Linked DNA regions of Homo sapiens: all the other regions are linked to region 3. The links are contacts of gene promoters, found by promoter capture Hi-C in blood cells and fetal thymus (Javierre and others, 2016). All regions are on one chromosome and are shown on one strand. Each heading gives the region's core, a stretch centred on a gene start or on the middle of the fragment in contact. The rest is flanking DNA. Distances are from core to core; before and after follow the strand shown. Region 1 overlaps NCOA7 (nuclear receptor coactivator 7). Region 2 overlaps NCOA7 (nuclear receptor coactivator 7). Region 3 holds the start of HDDC2 (HD domain containing 2).

Evidence for each region. The method cuts DNA at HindIII sites, captures the fragments that hold promoters and counts their contacts. A CHiCAGO score of 5 or more calls a contact.
Region 1: a contact is called between a fragment that was not itself captured here and the fragment with the promoter of HDDC2 in region 3, in 3 of 17 cell types (naive B cells, total B cells and naive CD8 T cells). The highest score is 7.8, in naive B cells.
Region 2: a fragment that was not itself captured here is called in contact with the fragment with the promoter of HDDC2 in region 3 in 5 of 17 cell types (naive CD8 T cells, total CD4 T cells, total B cells and 2 more); the score reaches 7.6 in naive CD8 T cells.

Annotation. Positions count from the first base shown.
Region 1 is chr6:125,864,603-125,868,188 of GRCh38, reverse strand. All of the region lies in intron 3 of NCOA7 (nuclear receptor coactivator 7), which reads right to left. Among named protein-coding and RNA genes, the nearest start is that of NCOA7-AS1, 48 kb to the right of the region's middle. The HindIII fragment of the contact is 4,670 bases long and covers 1-3,586 here.
Region 2 is chr6:125,884,452-125,888,472 of GRCh38, reverse strand. NCOA7 (nuclear receptor coactivator 7) reads right to left here. Exons shown (of 16, transcript NM_181782.5): 8 at 3,130-3,314. Among named protein-coding and RNA genes, the nearest start is that of NCOA7-AS1, 68 kb to the right of the region's middle. The HindIII fragment of the contact is 3,809 bases long and covers 137-3,945 here.
Region 3 is chr6:125,300,436-125,304,256 of GRCh38, reverse strand. HDDC2 (HD domain containing 2) reads left to right here and starts at 2,290. Exons shown (of 6, transcript NM_016063.3): 1 at 2,290-2,408; 2 at 3,598-3,719. The coding sequence starts at 2,325. RefSeq lists a cis regulatory region at 587-767 and a silencer at 2,261-2,600. The HindIII fragment of the contact is 13,888 bases long and covers 1-3,821 here.

The DNA of each region.
Region 1 (3,586 bases), core at 1,040-3,539, 560 kb before region 3:
TGCTAAAAAAGCATTTGACGAATTAAACAGCCATTATTGTATTTTTAAAAAGAACAAAAAAATTCCAACTGTTAGAAAACTAAGAATAGAGTGAACTTCTTTAATGATGAATATTTATTCTTGATATTCACTAGAAATATGCTTCTGAAAAAGCAATGCAACGCTAAAGAGTATATACGAAAAGGAATTTCTTCATAGGAATGAAAACTGAATGACTTCACGATGTCACTTCCAGGTCTATAGAAGCGGGCTTATTACCGAAACACCGCACTGGTGAGGCCCCACCCCCAGCTTTCTGGAAGGAAGATTCCAGGTGAGCAGAGGGAAAAATAGCCCCAGGCACTGCATGAGCTCCACCCCCTTTCTTTGGTTCCAGTTGTGCCAGGAAAGGCCTAAATTGCCTAACAGCAATTCTAGCACAGTGTTTAAGGTTTCTGGGCACGGTATCCACCAATTTAGTGGTATGCACTAAATTACAACATAGAGGCGAACCTAATGTGAGGCTAAACCACAAGTATTTCAGGTCATAAAGAAAAAAGCCTTGTAGTGGAGATAAAAGCAGCAACACTACAAACATAATGGAAACTCCAGGATAAAGAGGGAATCCCTGCCATTCATCAGAGGCTACCTTGCACAGCACCACAAGGCAATCTCTGTGCTTGAATGCACTACAGGTACCCACATGCTCAACGTCTCTTGAGAAATTAAGCACTATTCTAACCTCTCCTAAAGTACACCTGTATAAACTGAGATGAGCTCTTATATCAGAAACCAAAAGGAAAAGAAGTACTTTTTTTAAAGTAAAACATTACCAATATCAATTTATGGTTTATACCCAACTTGGTTCTGAAATCTAGTCAAAGCAACAGATGAAAAGTTTTAAATACTGAGAAGAAATGAAAATGTGGTCATTAGCAGATAACATAATTGTCTGTGTAAAGAACCAATATTATCATGAAAATGTCAAAAATTCATAAAGTTGTTCACTAAGGTGGCCAGATATCATAATTTTTAATTTTTGTAACAGAAGCGTAATTGGAAAAGTCCCAGGTAGAGTGGTATCAAACTATATGACATCTAGGAATAAATATAACAAGACAATGACAAGATATACATAAATAAAATTAAAATGCTTAACTGAAGTGTCTAAATGGATATAATACTCCTAAGTAGGAAATCTCATCTTTAAATAAATATTTCACTTTTTTCAAATTAATGTTTAAATGCAATTTAAATAAAAAATAATTTTTTATGGCAAAGGAACAGTTTCCAAATTGAAAACCATGCTTATCTAGAAGCACAAATACATAAGACTATCCAAAATTATTTTTCAAAGAGAAGTGAGGGTAAGCACACTCTAATGATGTTGAAACACATGATTATAAAGCCACAGCAATTAAAACATTGCAGTGACATCACCAAAAAACAGAAATTTGGTGAAAATAAAAGCACCATTATAAATGAGAGGAGGCTGGATTTCCCCATAAATATCATGTAACTTAATGTTGGAGGGAAGGTTTTGGCATCAGATGGACTGTGAATGAGAGTCCTGGTCTACCATCTGCTCACTAGGTAACCTTGGGGAAGTAACTTAAAGACAGTCTCCCAGTGCACAAAATGGAGATACTGCTGGATTCCCAAAGAGTTACCCTAAGAATTTGATAAGGTGATTCAGAAAAAGCACTTTGCAATGTGCACAGTAAGGGTTCAAGGGACTTTAAGGATTATAATTAAATGAAGCTAGGTGAATAATGGCTAAGATTTGGAGAAAAATTTGGACCACTCTCAAATCAATGCAGAGAGATTCAAGACTGAATAGCAAAAAATAAAGTTATATATCTTTTTTTTTTCTTTTTTCTGAGACGGAATTTCGCTCTTGTTGTCCAGGCTGGAGTGCAATGGCGTGATCTCGGCTCATCAAAAACTCCACCTCACGGGTTCAAGCGATTCTCCTGCCTCAGCCTCCTGAACAGCTGGGATTACAGGCATGTGCCACCATGCCCAGCTAATTTTGTATTCTTAGTAGAGACGGGGTTTCTCCATGTTGGTCACGCTGGTCTCAAACTCCTGACCTCAGGTGATCCGCCCGCCTCAGCCTCCCAAAGTGCTGGGATTACAGGTGTGAGACACTGTGCCCGGCCTAAAGTTATATGTCTTTGAAGAAAATATAGCACTTATATCTGCCTAAAGAATGTCTTCTTGGCCAGATGCAGTGGCTCACACCTGTAATCCCAGAACACTGGAAGGCTGAGGTGGGAGGACTGCTTGAGGACAGGAGTTCAAGACATGCCTGAGTAAGATGGGCAGACCCTGTGTCTACAAAAGAAAAGAAAGAAAGAAAGAAAGAAAATATAAAAATTAGCCAGGCGTGGTGCTACATGCCTATAGTCCCCGCTACTTGGGAGGCTGAGGTGGGAGCATCACTTGAGCCCAGGAGTTTAAGGCTACAGTGAGCTATGATTGCACTACTACACTCCAGCCTGGACAACAGAGAGAGAGAGACCCTGTCTTTAAAAAACATAAAATAAATAAACTTTAAAAAGAAATAACACCTTCTCTATTGGCGATGCACACATCTCAAATTATTGACCTGACTCTATAAAAAGCACAATTAAAACATTCAGTATTGTTAGGTAGCACTTTAAGAGAAACCTAAAGTATAAGCTGTTATAATTAAATTAAAAAAAAAAAGATGTGTCAGGGAAGAATGAACCCTATACTCAATATGAACTCTGTTTTAACCTGTGGCACAAAGGAAAATGTCATGCAGTACATGTTACCTACCTTCCTTCCTTCAAGCAAGTCACAGGTAACATAGTTCTCGACTAAAATGAGTCATACTGTGCTAAAATCTAAAATGCAAGGCTTAAAGCACAGGGAAGTTACCAATCTTATAAAACGTTTTGCTCTAGAATCTACTACTGCACTCAGCATGGAGAAGGTCCTCCTCGTTTGTGGAAATAAGTCAGGCTTTGGTGCCAAAGAGGGCAGGGTATGAATCCTGGCTGCATGCTAGCCAACAGTGGATCCCTGGCCAGTTACTCAGCTTCTCAGTTTTTACGTTTGTAAAATAGGCTACATTTTTTGTAGCAGATCATAAGTCCTAAATTAAATAGTGAAATAAAGGATCTAACACAAAGGAGACATTCATGGAAAATAGTTCTTTCTGCTCTTCCTCGTGTCTGATGTTGCTTCTCCTCCTCTTCTTACCCTCTTTCCCACCCTCCAAAATACTTTATTGAAAACAGCTTTTTCTTTTCATAAATGGATCAAGGACAATAATTGTGCATATGAACACTTCAGAAGAAAACAGAAGAAATATGAAAGCCAATTTCACGTGAATCAAAACTATATACAGCCATTGTCTTAGTATATTCAGGCTGCTATAACAAAATACCATAAACTGGTGGCTTAGAAACAACAGTAATTTATCTCCCAGAGTTCTGGACACTAGGAAGTCCGAGATCAAGACACTGGCAAACTCGGCGTATTTTTCCCTCATCCTGGCTCGTAGATAGCGCATTCTCAACCAGGCAGCTCTCTGAAGTCTCTTTGCTAAGAACACTAATCCCAATCATGAGGTCGC
Region 2 (4,021 bases), core at 792-3,291, 580 kb before region 3:
ACTTAGTAGCTACTCACTTAACTGCTCCATATAAAGTCACTGACCTTGAACCCTGATTCTGGGTTTCATGGCTTAGGATCTGATGCTTCTAATCATAGACAGCCCTCTACTCCCAAAGGAGATGCAAGAGGAAGCTTCCACTATTATTGTGGGTATACGGCAGTTGCTCCATCTTATAATTTAAAAATGTATAGAAAAGTAAATCTTATCTAAAAAGCTCTTATGTATAGTACTTACATTTCTTAAGTAAATATTTCATAACAATATCGCTTTACTTTATAGCAATGGTGCAGCTCGTTTATCAGCTGAAACATATTGTCCTGGGATGCAGTCAATTATTTTTCCTTAATAACAGATGCTTTACTTCCCAGATCGGAATTACATGAAAATATTGATTAAACATGTTCTCCCAAGTGTAAAATAAATGATCAAGAAATACATTTAAAAAAAATGACTAGAGAGCAGCAAACCACCATGGCATGCACCTATGTAACAAACCTGCACATCCTGCACATGTACCCTTGAACTTAAAATAAAAGTTGAAAATAAATAAAAATAGTAATACTTTCAAATATGTGTAAGAAAAAAATATGACTGGAAATATCTTGAGTAAACCCATCCACTTACCACTACTACTAGTAGTACTATTACTGGGTTGAAATGCAGAGATATAAAAACCTTTTAAAGAATAACATTTCAATTTCAGAAATAATTGTATTTTCTAAAAAGGTCAGATCATCTTCAGATAAAACTTTATCTGCTATTTTGGCTTTGACATAAATGGTTATGACAATAAAGCAACAAAGTACCAGGAAGTTCTGAAGTTCCAAAAGACTGTCTTCCCAAAGTGATTTTATAAATCATCTGCATGAAAGGTTCATGCTTTTTCCAATAGAAAATAAAAGCCTATGTAATTGGTTGGCTCCAACAAATGCTTTAAAAAGCCTTCATAATTTATAATTCATTTCAATTTAATAAGCATTCATTGAGCCCCTAAGTGCTATATTCTGAAATACAACTGTGAAAGAATCTCTGTTCTGCAGGAACTTGCAAACACAAAATGTTCTGCCTAACATCAGCATCCCAGGAGATGTCAAAAATGCTTCCATCCTAGAGTCAAACAAGTTAGTGAAATGTAGCATAATCTCCCTATTGGAACTCAAAACTGAATTTGGCATATTAAAGCCTGTAAGAAGTCCTGCAACAAAGAAACCCAACTTTCCACATACTTGATTAATAAGCAAAACTTTCTTCACCTTCTCTACCTAGCTTGACCCCCACAAAAATACCTTCAACTGCACTCTAATTAGCTTTCTAGATTACCTTGTCTACCCCTTTCTTCTTTTACCTAATCCAAACTGTCCATTCCCCACTTGAGATTAATTTCACCATCTGCTTTTTCTGCAGTGCAGTTGCCAAGCATACATAATGCTGTCAACTGGCTAGTTTGTTAATTAATGTTTTCTAGACTTAGCCTGGCACCTAATGATGATCAACAATCCTTTCAGTTGTTACCTTCTTACTCACTGTGGCAGCCGGAGCTACAAAACGTCCTGCACGTGTGTGCACGCGCACATACACACACTCTCACACAAATACCAAACTTGAAGGTGAGGATGGAGGAGTTTTACACATACCCACTTTTAAAAACTATTGCACGTTGCCACTGGGTAATTTGTACTTATTGTTTTATCATTAAACTTTTGGTAATAATGATGTTTTAAGTAATTTTTAACTTTTAAACAACTTATGAAGTTCTGAAGACAATACAAAGTTTATTTCACACTGACTCTCACACATTCTTGTTCATTAGACTAAAAATCCTTTATATACCTGTATCCAAGGCAGGAATCAATGTGCAACCCTGAAATAATTTCAACCCTGAAATAATTTCAAATTAGAAGCTGATTCTTAACTCTGCTCTTTTCCTGTAATCATGGCATTATCCCTTGTAATCGAGATCATTAAACATAATCTCACATTGAGAGAAGTTTTTATATAAAGATGTACTGTCTATTATTAAATAGAATACTTAATATCCTAGGCTGAAGATGTGCAATGGTATTACTCCATTAGGAGCCCTATTTCAGTAGGGAATGCCCCTATTTGTTTGGCCACCCATTTAGACACTTCTGGCAGCAAAATTTGGAAACTACTTCAGGGCCCATGTTCTGGTGATATCTTAGTGGCTTGAGGTTGGGGAAGGGCTGAGTGGACCAGATTCTAATGGCTGTAGGAGTCCAGGGGAATCTACTTGCATAAACCTCCAGGGATTTCCCTAGTAACTTCCTTTTTTTTTTTTTTTTTTCATATAAGCCCCAAGGGCTAGTTTCCCTCTTTACTGTTAGGACCTACTGCTTTGCCTCTTCCCATCACTGAAGGTTTTTAAAGTTTTTTACTGCTGGCTTTTATAGAGAAACAGACACAGTAGAGCGAAAGGACAGTAAAAATCAGATTATCTGTATCAGTTAATCAATTTCCTGAGCTTTCTTAATGCTTTCTCTTTTTTCCTGGGGAGCTTCCCTCTCTTTTTTACAATAAATCCAGCATTATAAGGCAAAAGTAATCAGGACTGAAGTTATATTCATCTGTATTTCAGGGAAAAAGCAAACTGGTATTACTCCCTCTTCACAGCATGAGAAGGTGGCTACCACTACACTGTAGACCCAAACCCCTCTCCATGCAGGACTGAGGGAGGACATGAATCAGGGAGACTGCTTTTCCTAGAAGTTAAATGAAGACAAACATAACTCTCCTTAATTAAACCCAGAAGAAAACATTATTCTCTTATTGATAATTGGATAAACTTCTTTCAGAGAACTGCCTTTCTTCCTTCATAATTTCATTAAGAACGTGCACTGCTTTTTAGAAAAATAAGCCCAACAAATACTATTTTTACATGACGGCTTCTTTGTTTTTCTCCTTTAATCTTTATATGTTCAACTTTTCCCATCATTGATTTTATTCTTTTCATTTCTTCTCATTTTTCTCATTTTCTTCAGTGCACAAGTCTTCCATCTTCAAAATCACCTCTACACAATCCCTCAATCATGCAAATGCCCTCATTTTTAAGCTACATTTAGCTCTCTCAACACCCCTTTTTTCCTGGTAAACAAATAAATGTCTTACGATGGCAAGGCATCTTTGATCTTCATGTGAGAAATGTCATTGTAGAGCGCAATGGAAACAACCTCTTCCATGGGGCAGATGAGACCATACTCCTCACACCCATTTTCAATAACCAGAGGATCAGATTTATGAGGGTCAAACATGATGTTGTTAGGAGTCACTATCATAACACCGCCAACCACACCCTGCAGGAGAAAGCAACAGGACAGAATCACTTCAGGCAGAAATGCTTTCAGCAACTACCACAGAGCTTTAATTAACTCAGATGGCCACTCCATGGACTTTGTGAACCACAGTATCCTATGTGACAATTACATCCCCTTTGTGAGGACCAGAAAAACAGGCTGAAGAAATGCAATGCTAGGTGGTGAGGCAGAGAAAACAGATGTGGCTCACTGAGGCAACCAGCTGAGCCTGGTTCTATCACAGCTGCTGCAACAGCACAGTTGTGGAGTGATCCTGGTTCTCACATGCACGTCTCAGATTTCCTAGATTTTCTAGTTCTCTGTCTGCAAAATGGGAGGGGCTGCCCAAGTGCTTACCCGATCGAGAATACAGGGCTTTACAATTCACTCTGCAAGTCTTCACCATGTGTCTGACAAGTGCATGGTTCTGTGCTAAGGGAGCAGCTGTTTCAGAGTTACAGTGCCAAAGAATAGTCCCAATATTTTTCTTTAAAATATTTAGAAAGCCCATATCCAACAAAAGTCAAAGTAAATAGGAACATGAAACTTTTGTAGCCAGAGTGAATATAGCTGAACTATGGAGATTAAAGCAAAAAGTCGTAGCTTGGTGAAGTCTTTGAAGTCTGAAGCTTGCTCAAATTATAAAAGAGACCTTAATGGCCATACGGATATTATCTACCATGAACAGCAGGATACAGATAACTTCC
Region 3 (3,821 bases), core at 1,041-3,540:
CTCTGATTCTTGATCCTTCTTTTTAAACCTTGATCCCTCCATTTTTTAATTTTTAATTTTTTAGAGACAGGTTCTGTTTCCCAAGCTGGAGTGATCATAACTCACTGCAGCTTCAAACTTCTGGGCTCAAGTGATCCTCCCATCTAAGCCTCCCAAGTAGCTGGGATAAAGGCACAAACCACACCTGGCTTGATATTTCCTTTATTTAGCACCACTTACCATCATAAAAATGGCTTCCAGGTCATTATCCTAACCACGTTTAATACAAGCCCCAATGTCCTTGGCATTTATTTGGTTCTTAGTCATATTTAATCTTGTTGCTGAACCAGTCTTCAAAAAAATTATTTCATGCCTTCTTTCTCCTTGTATTAGTCCATTCTTGCATTGCTATAAAGAACTACTTAAGACTAGGTAATTTATAAAGAAAAGGTATTTCATTGGCTGTACAGGAAGCATGGCTGCAGAAACTCACAATCATGGTAGAAGGTGAAGGGGAAGCAGGCATCGTCTTCACCTGGCAGAGCAGAAGAGAAAGAGAGCAAAGGGGGGAAGTGCTACACACCATTAACCAGATCCCATGAGAACTCACTCACTATCACAAGAACTGCAAGGGGGAAGTCTGCCACCATGATCCAATCACCTCCCACCAGGCCCCTCCTCCAACTTTGAGGATTACAGTTTGACATGATATTTGGGTGGGGTCACAGAGCCAAACTATATCACTCCTTAAACCTCAAATGCCTCCTCCTCTATTCACAAACATTCTAGCCTCCTTTCTTCCCAGAGGCCTAGCAAGATTGCACTCCACAGGCCCCCTTTGAAGTTAGACGTGGCAGTGTTACTTATTTCACCAATGATACGTAGACAAAAGGTCATATATCACTTCCAGAGACAGGCTTTAAGAGCCAGAGTGCCACTTTTCTTTTTTCCAATTTTGGCAAAAGAGAGCAAAGAAAGCCTCCTAGCTCCCTGAGTAAGGTTAGAGCAAGCAGCATCCTCTAGCTGATCTACAATAGACACTTAGCATGAGAGAGAAATAAACCTTTGATGTGTTAAACTGCTGAGATACAGGAAATAAGGAGGTTGTTTGTTATTATAACATCCCAGCCTATACTTTGCTTCCTAATTTGGTGAGAAAATAGAAGCAATCAGAAGAGAACTTCTACAACCTCCCATGACCACATGTGCGACTGATTAGTCACCCTATACTCTGTCCTCCTCCAATATTTGAATGAATTCTCCATATTCCTATCTAAAGCCCATCTTTTATCTTGTACACCAGATGGGAATATTTTTCCTTACTCAAGGCCGACATTCAAATATTTCTCTTCTTTGTCTCTTACATAATCAATGTTTCCCTTTCTACTAGATCCCCTTCATCAGTAAACATACATAATATCTCCTGTTTTGAAACAATCTCTCCACTAGTTAACAGCACCCCAACCCCATCTCCAATGTGCTGTAATACTTGCTCCTATTCTCTTCGGAATTATCTCACTAGGTTCTGCTTGGCCCACTACACTGAAAACTGCTTTTGTCAGGGTAACCAATAATATTGAATTTACTAAGTCTGGAAGTCAAACCTTGGTCCTCACATTGACTTGGTTGACCATATTCCTTCCTTCTTGAAATATTTTTGTACATGGCTTCCAGGACACAACTATCCTACCTACTAATCCTCTTCCTACCTCACTGGCTGTTCCCTCTTGATCTCACAAAGCCTAAATGTTGGGGTTCAGGTCTTGGGTGTCTTTTCTTCTTCATTCACACCCTCTTGCCAGGTGACCTCATCCAGTTTCATGGTTTTACACTGTCAACTGAAGAATAACGAGGTTCATAAATTTAGAAAGGAGAGCTTTATTTTTCATAAAGAGTACTGAGTGTCAAGTATGTGCCAAGCAAGGTGTCTGCCACTGACGGAGCAATGCCCAAGCAGCGGACACCAAGGCCAAGAAGGCGAAGGCTGGACAGAAGGTCCTGAGAAAACCGTGAGAATATGGAGGAGGGGGAGGAGGAATAAGAACAGGAGGAGGAGGGGGAGGAGGAATAAGAACAGGAGGAGGAGGAAGAGGAGGGGGAGAGAGGAAGAGGGGCAGGAGGAAGAGGAAGAGGAGAAAGCGGAAGTGGGGGAGGAGGAGGAGGAGTTGGAAGGGGAGGAGGAAGAGGGGGAGCAGGAAGAGGGGCAGAAGGAAGAAGAAGAGGGGGAGGAGAAAGAGATAGAAGAGTAAGAGGAGGGGGAAGAAAGACAAGGGGAAGGGGAGGAGGAGGAGGACGGGGAGGAGCTTCGCCGCGGCCTGCTCCGCCCAGCCGGGGTCGGTGGCCGCATGGCTTCGGTCTCCTCTGCGACCTTCTCGGGCCACGGGGCTCGGTCCCTACTGCAGTTCCTGCGGCTGGTAGGGCAGCTCAAGGTGAGCGGGCACCAGGCCGGGAGGCCGCGGCCGAGCGGGCGGGACTGTGGGGCGGCGGAGCTTCCGGCCTCCCCGCTCGGCCGGCGGTCTTTGCCCTTCCTGCGCCGCGTCCGCCACGCCGAATTCCGGAAAGGCCCCAGTCCTGCGGATGCGGCCGCGCGTTGCCGACGGTGGACGGAGGAAGCAGCCGGCGGGACAGGCTGGCCAGCTGGGGCGGCCCGGAGTCTGAGCCTAGAGCCTGGCGCCGCGAGGTCCGCACTGCAGCCGCGCCAGTTCCCGGAGAGCAGCCGGCCTGGCCCTGCCTGCACTGAGCTTTTCCGGGGCTCACGACCCCAGAACTCGTGTGTGTGTGTGTGTGTGTGTGTGCTCACGACCCCAGAACTCGTGTGTGTGTGTGTGTGTGTGTAAAGCGCGGCTGCTTCTGAGCACGGGTGGGAAGAACAGAATCTGTCGGCTCCTCAGATTTTAAGTGGAGCTTTTTATGTCTGTCTCACAGTTACTTCCAGAAACAAGACTTTTCTCCCGGCCACCCCCCAAACGGGATTTAATGTAATACACACGAGTTTCATCATGTGCGTCTTCCCCGTCTCTCTCCCAAGTTCAAAGTAAATTATCCGTTTCATGCCACTCTGACTACTATTTATAACATTCCTTAGAGATGTAGAATTCTGAGGAAGAAATGCAGTTTCACAAGATGAAGTTATGATGTGAATAAAAGGAAGAGTCACGGCTGGTAGCATCAAGCAATTAGAAGTGCCCTTATCCCTTGTGCCTCAGAATTTGGAAGCCTATCACTCGTTCACGTTCAGACCCTTCAATACAGTGTTTTCTGCTTGTGTAGGATTATTTGAAGGCAAAAAGCCGCAACTCTTGTTCGGAAAAATGCAGTTTTGTTTTTGTTTAAAGGACTTGCATATGTTCCATAATTATACATCAGTAACAGAATAATTTGACGAATGGACTTTGTGACTTATCTCTCTCTGTCTTCTACCCCTTTCATTCTCTGAGCTCTCTAGTTCATTTGATTCCAGATGTCTATCATTTTAGCTAGTTTAGCAAAACATTTTGTAATAGGTTCTGAAATTATGACCCGGCTTCTGTGTGTTATATCCTGGACATCTCTTGAAGAGCATAGCAGATAGTTAATATTTGTTCTTTAAAACTTCTTTTTCTTCTTCATATTTATCAGAGAGTCCCACGAACTGGCTGGGTATACAGAAATGTCCAGAGGCCGGAGAGCGTTTCAGATCACATGTACCGGATGGCAGTTATGGCTATGGTGATCAAAGATGACCGTCTTAACAAAGACCGGTAAGCTGAGCTGGACTTTGATGCTCGTGAGAGATTCTGGTCTATGGGTGTGCACCCGTTTTTACTACTGAGACCCATGTCAAATCCTTGTAGGTTAGTTTA